Regions from separate parts of the Homo sapiens genome. Here regions 2 and 3 are each linked to region 1. The links are contacts of gene promoters, found by promoter capture Hi-C in human tissues and cell types (Jung and others, 2019). All regions are on one chromosome and are shown on one strand. Each heading gives the region's core, a stretch centred on a gene start or on the middle of the fragment in contact. The rest is flanking DNA. Distances are from core to core; before and after follow the strand shown. Region 1 holds the start of DEGS2 (delta 4-desaturase, sphingolipid 2). Region 2 overlaps CCNK (cyclin K). Region 3 holds the start of HHIPL1 (HHIP like 1).

Region 1 (4,407 bases), core at 1,121-3,620:
AATGGTGCAATCTCAGCTCACTGCAACCTCTGCCTCCCAGGTTCAAGCAATTCTCCTGCCTCGATTACAGGTGCCTGCCACCACGCCCAGCTAATTTTTGTATTTTTAGTAGAGACGGGATTTCACTATGTTGGCCAGACTGGTCTCGAACTCCTGAGCTCAGGTGATCTGCCTACCTCAGCCTCCCAAAGTGCTGGGATTACAGGCGTGAGCCACCATGCCCGGCCATAAACTTTATTTTTCAGAACAGCTTTATATTTACAGAAAAACTGTGATGATAGTTTAGAAAGTTCACATATATGCCACACCCAGTTTCCTTTATTTTAATATCTTATAATATGGTGCATTTGTTGCCTTTGATGGACCAATATTGATACACTATGATTAACTATGGTCCAGCTTTACTAGGCTTTCCTTAGCTTTACCTAATGTCCTTTTTCTGCTCCAGGATCCCATTCAAGACACCACATTACAAACGAAAATGTATTTTCTGTCATTTCTGGGACAACGGACAGGGTGGGGACGCAACAGTATGTGCTCCTGGCTCGTCAACACCGTGAAGCTGGGTTTCTGGCTCCCCAGGGACTTGGGGAGCACTTGGCAAGGGCATCAGACTTGATTTCATGCATCCTGGGTGTCTGTTCCACTCCCAGGTCTTCTTCAGCATGTCCTCTGACTTGTCCCCTCTCTGGCCTCAGTTTCCTCATCTGGAAAATGAGGGCCTTGGTGAGTTTCCTCTGGATAGGCGGTGGCCTGGGGCAGAGGGAACTGGCAGGCTTGGTGTTGTCCTGAGGGTGGAGCTGGGGCTCAGGGCGGCAGATCTCACGGAGTTCAACACAGGGGCGAAGGCTCTGATTTTGGAAGCTTTTTAATTCAAAGGTCAGGGGCCAAAGTCATGCCCCAGCCTTGCTGTTAATTCCTCTGTGCCTCAGGCAAGGCGCTCCTCATCTCTGGGCCTCAGTCTCCTGATCTGTAAAGTGATGGCTGGTGGGATGACTTCTGAGGACCCTTCTGGCTGGGAACAGAGCAGGCTGCCCTGGGAGCAATGAGTCTTCTCCCAAGGGTGCAAGCTGGGCCGGGAGGCCTCCTGGGTGTGGCAAGGGGTGATGGCCATGGTGGCATGTGGGTCCCCCTGCTGATGGAAAATCTGGCCTCTGTGTCCACCTTTCCCATGGCTAATTCAGGGGATGGTGGCTGGCGGCTGCAGGACACCCATGCCTTCCTTCCTGGCTCACTCAGGACTGCCTTTGGCCCTGAGCTAAGGAAGGCCTGCCAAGTGTACCAAACCCCGGGCCATGGACTTCCATGGGACGCACAGAAGCACGCCCTCACTATGTGCGAGCCTGTGGCAGCGCTGGCTGATGTGTCAGTCAGCTCCCAGGCAACTGCCAGCCGAGGCCAGGCTCTGGCCCACAGGCACAGCAGGTCCACCCTCCAAAACTCCAAGGGAGTGGGAGAAGGAACAGAGGCATCACTGAGAGGGTGAAGATGAGGGGCCCTGTGCCCTTACCTCCCCAAAACTAGACTTTCCATTTGAGAACATTCAGGTTCTGCCTTGTTTCCAAGCGTTTGCATCTGCTGTTCCCCCTAGCACCAATGCCTTTCCCTTTTCTAGCTGTTGAACTCCTACCCACCCCTCAAGGCCCAATGCAAAAGTTCCTTCTATTGGATCCTAGCTGCTTCAGGGCCTACCTGTGTCATGGCACGTATCACCCTGAATCATAACAGCCACTTCTGTACCTGTGTCCCCATCCAGAACTCAAGTTCCCTGAAGGCAGGAGTGGGTCTGACTCATCCCTGTGAGGTTGCTGCAGACGCATTATCTCCCCTTTGCATTATTGGTGAAAGGGCCGGGTGGAGGAAGGGAGGATTGCTGCACCAACCTTTCCTCGGCGCCTGTTTACTGGCACCGTCGCATCCATTCCACGCCGATCCTCCGCAGTCCCCCTATCCTGCCAGCCGCTCCTCCTTGGGGCAGGGGCGGCGCGAGCCACAGGGGCGTGCCCGCGAGCGGGTCGGGGCTGCGGAGAGAACGGGCCGGGGTAAAAACCCGACGGCTGCCCGCGGGTGGGCGGGGCGCGCAGAGCCGGTGGGAGGCCGCGGTGGCAGCAGTCGCCCCCGCGCATCGAGGGACCCAGGGACTCGCGCAGATGGCACGCGGCCACCTCGGTCCTGCCGGGGAGCCCCATTTCCAACCGAGGCAACTGAGGTTCCCAAAGCGCCAGCTACCCGCCGGGGTCTGGAGAGCGCCGGGGCCCGGCCGCCCCGCCCAGCCAGAGGTGCCCCGCCCCAAGCCTGGCGCACCTGGCCCCGCCCCGCCGGGACCCCGCCCCCGCCCTAATCAGAGCTGGTTCCGCGCCGCGGCCGCCGCGACAGGTGCAGCAGAGCCGAGCCGGCCGCGCTCCGAACGGCGCCTCCCGCCCCACCATGGGCAACAGCGCGAGCCGCAGCGACTTCGAGTGGGTCTACACCGACCAGCCGCACACGCAGCGGCGCAAGGAGATACTGGGTGAGCGCCGCGCGGGGCCCACCCCGGTGGGGACCGCCCCGTTGGCCCGTCTGGAGTCGCGTCGTGGGGTCGAGCCCAGACGGGCCGCTCCAGCTCTGGCCCAAATTCCAGTGGGCGTTCCGCCATTGCCGCTCCCCTCCCTGGGGTCCCCGGCCGGCTCCCCGAGGGTCCCCCACCCTGGCCGGGTCTGAAACTCCCTGGGACCTGAGGATTCCGAGGACCCCAGTACGGGTCCGAGCGCCAGGGAGCGCGTCCCAGCTGTTCCTCGCGAGCCACTCCCGGGGCCAGGGCCGGGGCTCTGGGATGCTGGGACGCGAGGGCGCAGGGGCGGCCCCGGGACGCGCTACGAGGCGCACGCGCTCCCTGGCGCGGAGGCAGCTTGCGCGACGCGGGGCCTCCACCCGCAGTCACTGGGCGCCTGCTGCGCTCAGAGCCCCTGGGTCTCGCGGCCACGGGCGCCCCAGGCTGGAGTTCAGGGCGGATGAGCGCCGGGAAGGGAGCAAACGCGAATGAGAGGCGCGCGTGTTTTCTTTGAAAAAAGCAAAGATTGTACTAAAGAATCCTTCTATTCTGGCATGTCGCTTATTACGTGGTGGCTGTTTTCCTTGTTGCTTCGTGTCCTCTGCGAGGAGGGCATCTTTACCCACTCGGAGTCACTCTCGTTCATGCCAGAGGCCCCATCCCACCCACAAGCAAGGTGGCCCCGGTGAGTCGTCCTTGGCCCGGGCTTACGGGGTTAAAGGGCCTGCGTCTGGAGAGTGGCTTTTGCCAGATGCCACCAAATCGCCACAGGCTGAGACAGGCCCGCCCCTCCCGCCCTGCCTAAGTCAGCACCGCGCGTTGCCACACTTTGTAATCTTCAGTCAGATTGGGGAAACAATACCATTTCACTGTGGCTTTAATTTGCACTTATTTGATGGAGGTTTCACATTTTAATCGGGCGTTTTATTTAATTTAATTAATTTATTTATTTAGAGACAGAGTCTCGCGATCTCGGCTCACTGCGACCCCCGCCTCCCAGGTTCAAGCGATTCTCCTGCCTCAGCCTTCTGAGTAGCTGGGATTACAGGCACCTGCCACCACACCCGGCTAATTTTTGTATTTGTAGTGAGATGGAGTTTCACCATGTTGGCTAGGCGCGATCTTAGCTCACTGCAACCTCTCCCCACTGGGCTCAACTGATCCTCCTACCTCAGCCTCCTGAGTAGTTGAGACTGCAGGTGTGTACCACTATGCCCGGCTATTTTTTTTGTATTTTTACTAGAAACAGGGTCTTGCCATGTTGCCCAGGCTGGTCTCAAACTTCCGAGCTCGAGGGATCCACCCATCTCAGCCTCCCAAAGTGTTGGGACTACAGGCATGGGCCATGAGCCACCACGCCTGGCCTGAACAACTTTTTTTTTTTTTTTTTTTTTTTTTGAGAGGAAGTCTTGCTCTGTCGCCCAGACCGGAGTGCAGTGATGCGATCTCCACTCACCGCAACCTCCGCCTCCCAGGTTCAAGCGATTCTCCTGCCTCAGCCTTCTGAGTAGCTGGGATTACAGGCACCCGCCACCACACCCGGCTAATTTTGTATTTGTAGTAGAGATGGGGTTTCACCATGTTGGCTAGGCTGGTCTCAAACTCCTGACCTCAGGTGATTCACCCGCCTCTGCCTCCCAAACTGTTGGGATTACAGGTGTGAGCCACTGCGCCCAGCCAACTTTTTCTTTCTTCCTCTTTTTTTAATCCCATGGCAGCATACTGAGATACCATGACTTTTAAATGTTTGAAACCCAAGATACATTGGGTGGCTAGCCTGTGACTGCATCCCGGGGTAACTGGGGCCTCAGGAGCTGGAAGCCTCTATGTGGGTTTGTGACTGCTGTGGTTTCTCCTGGGAGGTGAGCTGCAGCCCA
Region 2 (4,407 bases), core at 673-3,172, 670 kb after region 1:
ATTTTTAGTAGAGATGGGGTTTCGCCGTGTTAGCCGGGATGGTCTGGAGCTCCTGACCTCGTGATCCGCCTGCCTCGGCCTCCCAAAGTGCTGGAATTACAGGTGTGAGCCACCGCGCCCAGCCAGACATCTCTATTTTTTTAAAGTAATTCAAAAAATATTTACCAATAAGGAATGGGGAAAAACAGGATGGAAAAGACAGGAATGGAAACAAGACTTCTCTATGTATATATCTTTTTATACAGCTTTGCCTTTTTATGAAAGCTTTTATTTTAAACTAATTGTACGTTTACAGAAGAGCTGTAAAGATAGATGAGTTTTGTCTATACCCTTCACTTAGCTTCCCCAATGTAAACATCTTCCATAACCATGGTTCATTTATCCAAAAAAAGAAATTAACTTTGGTATAACCACTATTAACTACACATCATATTTGGGTGCAGGTGATATCAGAACAACTTACTGCTGTTAACCATGAGCTCTTGGTTAAGATGGAGTCTACCAGGTTTCTCACTGTAAATTATTATTTTTCCCTTCCTATCTTCTATTCCTTAGATGCAAGTCACGAGGTCCAGCCCACACTCAAGGGTAAAGGAATTAAGCTCTACTTTCTGGAGGCAGAGATATCAAAGAAATTGTGGACATATGTTAAAACCACCCACTAGTAAGTAAATATTTTGGGGGAAATATTTTACAATGCAAAATACTATACAAATGTCTATTTCTCCTTCAAGTTTCATCTACTAATTTTAGCATTCACCTGAGACGATTACAACTGTGGTGTTCTAATGGTGACTTTCTATTTCCTTCACTGCTTCAACATTTATTATTTGGAATCATTTTGTTAATATTTGTTTCTTCTCTCCCATTTGTTTATTTACTTTAGTACAGACATGAGTATTTTATTCTTTGGGTTATAATCCAATACTATCATTATTTATTTTGTTGCTCAAATTATTCCAATGTGGCCATTAGGTGCTCTTTCAGCTTGACTCCCTGCAGAGTACTTTTATAACTTTGATGTTTGAATCATGTAAATATTTAACATACTCATACACTTAACTAAAAATAAAAAAGCAAATCCTAAAACTCAAACCAAATGGGCAACAAAATCACACAGAAACTTACTTCCAAGTAATTTCTGATATTGTTACATGCTTAGTGAGATATATTCTAAGGACAAAAATAACTGAAAAGAATTATTTATTTGTTTATTTATTTACTTACTTACTTATTTTAGAGTCAGAGTCTTGTTCTGTCACCCAGGCTATAAGTGCAGTGGCATGATCCTAGTTCACTGCAGCATCGAACTCCTGGCCTCAAGCGATCCTCCCGCCTAGCCTCCCAAAGTGCTAGGATTATGGGTATGAGCCACAGTGGCTGGCCCCAACGAAATTTTAAAACTTCATTAGTGTACTGTTAGTAGTGTCATTAATGTTGTAATTTTCAAACACATTTTTTTTTGCATGTTGTGGAATAAAGCAAATATGTAAATGCTAATGTTGTTAGGAACCAAGATTTTCAGTGCAAAGAAAACAAATGCACACATGCAGAAAACCAAATGTTAAGAAACAAATCTGTAATGTTAAACTTTAACTGAAGATATCAAAATAAATCATGGTTAAAAAAAAATATATATATATGTATCCCATTTCTGTCCTTTTCAAGTACCAAGAAGGAATGACACTCCTAATTCTGAAATCTTAACTTTTTCAATACCAATACCCTCTAAAAGGAAGCAGGTTTCTTTCCAGTCTGGGGTTGGAGCCTGCCTGGGATGTACTCAGACTAATCAAAGCTTATCAAAAGACATAGGACTGCTGAAGGAATGATTTGCTAGGGAAAAAAAAAAAAAAGACATAGGAGCCACCATGATGGGTGCCCACTGGACTAATCCAAGGTAATTTGAATAGCAAAAAGAAAAATAACTGTGGTTGATCATAAAATAGTGAACATACAATCCAAGTGTCCATAATATTAATACATATAGAGAATAATACTTTGCTAGCACTGATAACTACTGATAATAAAATGCTACTGATAATAAATGCGACTTTGCTAGCATGGATATTAACTACTGTAAAAAAAATACAGTTGATCCTTAACAAAATGATCACACTTGACATCACTAATAGGGTGAAAACCTGACATTACATGGCTTCTGATGTGATGCAATGTGAAATAAATATCACCTACCTATGTAGTATTCTTGTCCCCCAAAAGCTTAACCTAAATTTAAGCAAACTTTTGACCGAACTTCCAGTTTACAATAAATACTGGTGGTACAAGAGTAAGTGAAAAAAGCACAACATGGAAACTATCAGTCACATCCAGAAGGTGAGACACTCTACTCAACAACTGACCCGGTCTCTTCAAAACAGTGTTATGAAAAAACATTTTGAGAGACTGTCTTAGATTTAAAAAGGCTAAAGAGGGCTACAACAAAATGCAATGTGTGAACCTTGATTAGATCCTGCTTTTTTTTTTTTTTTAAAAAAAAGAAATTTCAAACAATTTGGAAAAATTTAAGTATAAATTGTATATTAGAGGGTATTAGGGAGGGAATTACTGTCAGTTAATTTTCTTTGGGGGTAATAATGATATTGTGATTACACAGGAGAATGACTTTATTCTTAGCAGATGAAGGCTGAAGTATTTTGGGTAAAGTGTCATGATGTCTGCAACCTACTTTCAAATGGTTCAGCTAAAACACAACCACACAGTAAACATGGCAAAAAACGAACATGTGTCCACAGGTAAATAAGTTGTCATTGCACTATTCTTTCATACAATAAAAAGTTGGGGAAAAAGTCAGATGAGACTGAATAGGAGACCAGGAGGACTCCTTATCTTCATCAATCCCTCGATAGCCAAGGAATACTTGCTTATGTGTGGGTACTGCTTTCATAAATTACAACACTGTGATTTGAATTATAGCATACAAAAAGAAAAGTGAACTAATTATAAGTGTATGGCTGATTGTTTTTCACAAAGTAAACACACCTGTGTTAACACTATTCAGTTGAGAAAGAGAACAGTACCAACATTCCAGAAGCTCTCTTCGTTCTTTCCTAGTGACTATCCTCCCAAAGATAACTATTCTGACCTCTATTTCCATCAATTTGTTTTGCCTGTTTTTGAAGGACTGTGCGATGACACAGTACCACTTTTACATTTGGTTTCTTCTGCTCAATATTAAGTTCATGGGATTCATTCCTGTTGTTGCATAAAGCAGTATTTGTTCATTCTCACTGCCGCAGAGCAGTGGTTTTTAAACCTGGGACAATTTTGCCCCCCAGGGGACATTTGGCAATGTCTGAAGACACTTCTGGTTTTCCTAACTGGGGGGTTGCCACTGGCATCTAGTGTGGGTAGAGGCCAGGAATGTTGCTGAATGTCCTCAGTGCACAGAACAATCCCCCATGACAAGAAATTATCTGGTCCAACATGTCAATAGTGCCAAAGCTGAGAAAGTCTGCTGTACAGTACAGTTATATCCTATGAATGCAACACACTTTATCTATACATTCTACTGTTTGGGCATGTAAATGTTTCTGGTGTTTGATTATTAATAAGTGTTAAACATGTACATATATTCTTATAGAACAGAAGGCAACTGGACAGTTGGCTGAGGGAATCAATATCTTAGCACATCTTAGCAATTTATTCACAGTTGGGAATTGCTACTTTAATATACATACGCCTAACAGTTTTCCATGTACTTTTTCATTTAAATATTTCCTGAGCATTTACTATGAGCCAGGCCTTAATGGCATGGCAGGGCACAAGATAAGTAAGGTCTTTGCCCCAGGAAGCTTACATTCTAGTGGGAGAGACAATAAGAAAGAAATATATGAATATTTGTCAGGGAATCTTAAGTGCCACAAATAATAACGCATGTAAGGGGAGAGAACATAATGAGGTAAGGGCTGTTTAGAGGTATGCAGAAAGAGGAAGAGTTAGGAGATTATAGTAGCAGTTCAAGTAATGCCTAATACACCTGTCTCCACACAATGGCAGCTGGAACAAGGGGTGTGTGTGTCATAATTGGCCATGAGGCAAAGAATGGAAAAAGATGATTTCAAGTTTGACTGACACAGAGGGTGATACTAAAAAGACAAATGGATAAGACAAGAGAAAAAGCTGGTTTTGATAAGGAGGGAGGAAAAGAATTTGGCTCTATAAATACTAAGCTTGAAGAACTTTAAGATCCTTTTGTGGAAATATCTATCAGACAGATAAATAGGCCAGTTGAAGTCTCTACAGAACATATCTACTTGGGGTTCATCTACACAGAGGTGATAACTATAAAGTCATGTTGACGGATGGAGGGATGGAGAGTGAAGAAGGAAGGGGTCTGGGTACAGAACTCTGTGAACTTGTACCAAGTAGGAAGAATCACCAAAG
Region 3 (4,407 bases), core at 617-3,116, 510 kb after region 1:
GGGCCAAGGAAGCCCTCGAGAAATCCAACTGCAAACACTTACCGAGCCCCTAGTATGTGGCATTTAATCTGCATGGCCACCCAGGGGGGTGGTTAAGGTTTTATTTTATTTATTTTATGTATCATATTATATCATATTATATTATATTATATTATATTATATCATATCATATCATATCATATCATATCATATCATATCATATTATATTATATTATATTTTTGAGACGGAGTCTTGCTCTGTTGCCCAGGCTGGGGTGCAGTGGCTCAATCTTGGCTCACTGCAACCTCTGCCTCCCAGAGTCAAGTGCTTCTCCTGCCTCAGCCTCCCGAGTAGCTGGGATTACAGGAGCTCCCCAACATGCCCAGTTAATTTTTGTATTTTTGTAGAGATGGAGTTTCGCCATGTTGGCCAGGCTGGTCTCGAACTCCTGACCTCAAGTGATCTGCCCACCTTGGCCTCCCAAAGTGCTGGGATTACAGGCATAAGCCACCATACTCAGCTTCATTTTAAAGATATTGTGAGGTGCAGCAGTGACCTGCCCAGGTCACGAAGCTGGGGAAGTGACAGAGCCAGGATCAAACTCCAACTCCAAGTCAGCCTTCTTGCCCTTCCCCACACCACCTGCCCCTGCTGGCCGAAGGCTGGGACACGGCCCTGGCCCCTGGGGCCTCTCCACCCCAGGCCTCTCACTGCCCAGATGCTGAGGCAGGAATGCCTTGGGGCTGCCCGTCCTGCTCCATTTCTGCATTCAGCCAGGCAACATTTGCCCACTTGGGTGTGGTCAGGCCCTGGGGCCTCAGACTCCCACAAGAGGAAAACAAATAGCGGTGGCACCACCAGGTGTGCACAGAAGCAGGGGCTCCACCCTCAGAGGGAAGATGGGGGGCCCAGGGGCTTCAACAAAGAGCTGTCGCTCAGTCTTGAGAGAGCTTCTGCAGGCCAGGGCGCCATCCCCAGGAGAGGGCACAGCACCCACAGAGGTGGTGGCGGAAGTGGCAAGGGCATCAGGATGGGGGTGAGACGCTCGTGGGGGACAGTGGCCCCAACCCCCTCAACAAACCCGGGCCACACGTTGACCACGCCCACGCCAGGGCCCCCTGCTTTCACTGCCCCGGGGACAACACAAAGGAGCACTGACCGGGACAGATGCCTCTCCACCTTGGTACCCCGACAAGGGTGCAGCTGCTCGGGGTGGGACGCTGAGGGGTCGACTCCAGGGGACTGGGGCAGAAGAGCCCCCAACCTCTGAGGAAATGATGACATCATCTGTCCGTCCGTCCGTCCTTCCTGCTTCAGGAGGGGAAACTGAGGCCCCGAGAAGGCCCAAGTCACAAAACTAATGAATGGCAAAGCCAAGAGTCGTCCTGGGATGCGCGGTCTCCCCGCCCCGTGCCAAATGACTCCCTGTTGGGGCTTAGAGTTCCCGAGTCCGCCGCCCACTCTTGGCCCTCGCCCCCGCGGGGTTCCGATCTCTGCTCCAGGACTCGGCCTCCCGCGCCCCGCCCCGCCCGGTGGCCGCGCGCCCGCTCACCTGGCACAGCAGGTCCCTCGCGTAGCCGGCGCACGCGGCCCACTCGGCGGCGTCCACGCGGCTCGCCAGGGCCCAGAAGCGGCGGGTCAGCTCGGCGTCGCGCCCCTCATCGCAGCAGCCGAAGTCCGAGTACTGCGCGCAGAGGCGCAGCGGCTGCGTCGGCCGGAAGGGCGGCCTGAAGTCCAGGCACTGCGGATGCGCGGCGGCCCCGAGCACCCAAAGCGCCAGCAGCGCCCCGGCCCTGGCCCGGGCCATCGCTACGCCCCGCGGGGGAAGAGGCGGAGGGACGGCAGCCCCGGTCCCCTCCCGGGGCGCTCGCGGCGGCAGGGAAGGGGCGGGCGCTCCCCTTCCCTACACGCAGGGCCTCGAGTTTGGGGACCTCCCCTTCTAGGAGGTCACCTCTGGTCGGGGACACTCGGCGGGACTGAAGGAAGAGGGACGCGGCGCAGAATGCGGCACGACCTCTTTTAACCGCTTTCCAAATTCGATGGGAGTGGCCCGGTCTGTTTAAAGCCCCGGTGTGTTTTCCCGGTTCCGCCTGGGGCCCTGCTTCCTCCCCACAGGGCGCTCTTTAGCCAGGGAGGCGCAGGGCCAGAGGCCTGGACTCCTGGGCTTCGGTTCCACCTCCCACTGGGCTAGGGAAACGGATGCCCGCAGCCCGTCCCCGAAAGCTCCCACGTAACATTTTAAAAATGGGGGTGCGAGGGAAAGAACAGGGGGTGTTGCCCCAGGACTCTCAGGGAGAAGTGAAACCTGGCGTAGGGGTGGGGAGGGAGGACGGAGCAGTCTCCGCAGTCCACCCTTTGCCCTTACTGTGGGCTTCTTCCCAGTCTCTGCTCCTGGGGCAGCGGATTCTCCTGCAGCCCAGGACCCACTGGGGCTCCCCACTTCCACTCTCGCATAGGGAGCACTGATGAATCTACCTCCTGGGATGGGCATCCAGCCCTTTGTTCCGCTGCCCCCGCTGGAGATTCAGACCCAACCCCGCCCCACCCCCCCACACACATACAGACGCACACACGCTGTCTTACCTACCCCAGAATCTCATGGCACCAAAACCACCCACACAGACAAACACACACACACTGTCTCACCTACCCTAGAATCTCACAGCACCAAAACCACCCAGGCATTTTTCTCAAGTGGACCTCAGCGTTTGCTTCTCCCTGGAGTGTCCTTCCCCATCTTCTCTGTCCAGTGAGCTCCTACTCCATCTTCATGGCCCCAACGCACACATCCGTCCTCTGCAGGTCTCTTTGGACTGTCCTGGGGGATCATGTTTCTGTCTTTGGGCCCATGCTCCTGGCAGAGCTGGGGGTGGATGAGATGCGGCAGGGCTGGAGCACTCAGAGGTCTGTGGCTCTGGCCTGAACAGGTGCAGTGTAAGAGTCAGGGTCTCCGCACAGCCAAACATCTCTGAGTATTTGAAACACGGGGAATTTAACGCAGGGACTTGAAGCCAAAGAGGCTAAGAAGCCATACAGGGCTCAGTGAAGTAACCTTGAGATCAGCAACAGTAGGAACAGTCCCCAGGTCCTTGATGCAGGAAGAGCAGATGTTACTGGAGCCAAGGAGCTATGGTCACCTTGTCAAAGCTGGACCCTCACAAGGCCTGTCTGGCCACAGCTGGAGATAGCCACTGTCAGAGATTCTGCACAGACAGAGGAGGAGAAATACCCCGGCTTCTCCCTGCCACTTCCCCTCCAACTCCCACCTGTGGCTTTCATTGGCTGAACCTAGCAGAGGGCTGCTAGGGTGGGAAATGCGGCCTGCAACGGCTTCCTGCACAGACAGCTGGGAATAGGCAGAGCCAGGATGGAATCGGAGGGCACGATGGCGCCTACTTCCCAGCTGGGACTCAGAACTGGGTGATAGTCACACATCAACACAGGGCTCCAGATGAGTGTACAGAGGTGGAAGTGACACAGAGCCTGGGCCACAGCCATGAGGTTTGGGCTCCTACAGCCACAGAAAATGTCAAACACAGCCCAGCCCCAGCCAGAGTAACATAAATCCTCACCCTAATACCTATTTACCTCGGTTTCTGTTATCTAGTACATCCTGATTGGCTTTCCAGAAAAACAACAAGGCATGAAAAAAAGATAAGAAAAGTCACAGTCAGGAGCCGGGCACAGTGGCTCACGCCTGTAATCCCAGAACTTTGGGAGGCTGAGGCGGGCGGATCACCCGAGGTCAGGAGTTCGAAACCAGCCTGGTCAACATGGTGAAATCTCGTCTCTACTAAAAATACAAAAATTAGCCAGGCGTGGTGGCACGCGCCTATAATCCCAGCTACTGGGAGGCTGAGGCATGAGAATCGCTTGAACCCAGGAGGCGGAGGCTGTAGTGAGCTGAGATCGTGCCATTGCACTCCAGCCTGGGTGACAGAGCGAGACTCTGTCTCAAAAAAGAAAAAAAAAAGTCAGTCAGAAGGAGCATCAGAGCCAGCCTGGGACATGACACAGATGCTGAAATTACCAGACATGGAATTTAAAATAACTATGACTAATATGTTAAGGGCTCTGGTGGAAAAAGTTGACAACATCAAGACCAAACATCTCTGAATATTGACAAGGACATTGGCAAGGACAAATGGGTAATAGAAGCAGAGAGGGGTCCACTTTAAGAAAAAAAATGAAGGCCGGGCACAGTGGCTCATGCCTGTAACCCCAGCACTTTGGGAGGCCAAGGTGGGCGGATCACGATGTCAGGAGATCGAAATCATACTGGCTAATACGGTGAAACCCCATCTCTACTAAAAATACAAAATTTAGCCGGGCATGGTGATGGGCGCCTATAGTCCCAGCTACTTGGGAGGCCGAGGCAGGAGAATGGCGTGAACCCAGGAGGCGGAACTTGCAATCAGCTAAGATTG

What was found. Contacts are between HindIII fragments. The study calls those that stand out against the background at their distance.
Region 2: a fragment that was not itself captured here is called in contact with the fragment with the promoter of DEGS2 in region 1 in 1 of the 25 tissues and cell types used here (dorsolateral prefrontal cortex).
Region 3: a contact is called between the fragment with the promoter of HHIPL1 here and the fragment with the promoter of DEGS2 in region 1, in 2 of the 25 tissues and cell types used here (H1 embryonic stem cells and stomach).

Annotation. Positions count from the first base shown.
Region 1 is chr14:100,157,608-100,162,014 of GRCh38, reverse strand. DEGS2 (delta 4-desaturase, sphingolipid 2) reads left to right here and starts at 2,370. Exons shown (of 3, transcript NM_206918.3): 1 at 2,370-2,509. The coding sequence starts at 2,428. It overlaps LOC124903380 (a long non-coding RNA gene), which reads right to left and starts at 1,978. Exons shown (of 2, transcript XR_007064330.1): 1 at 1,884-1,978; 2 at 301-707. RefSeq lists silencers at 2,024-2,423, 2,524-2,583. The HindIII fragment of the contact is 21,272 bases long and covers 1-4,407 here.
Region 2 is chr14:99,486,363-99,490,769 of GRCh38, reverse strand. All of the region lies in intron 1 of CCNK (cyclin K), which reads right to left. It also overlaps a transcript of SETD3 not described here. Among named protein-coding and RNA genes, the nearest start is that of CCNK, 7.2 kb to the right of the region's middle. The HindIII fragment of the contact is 4,165 bases long and covers 1-4,004 here.
Region 3 is chr14:99,642,588-99,646,994 of GRCh38, reverse strand. HHIPL1 (HHIP like 1) reads right to left here and starts at 1,866. Exons shown (of 9, transcript NM_001127258.3): 1 at 1,533-1,866. The coding sequence starts at 1,787. The HindIII fragment of the contact is 28,378 bases long and covers 1-4,407 here.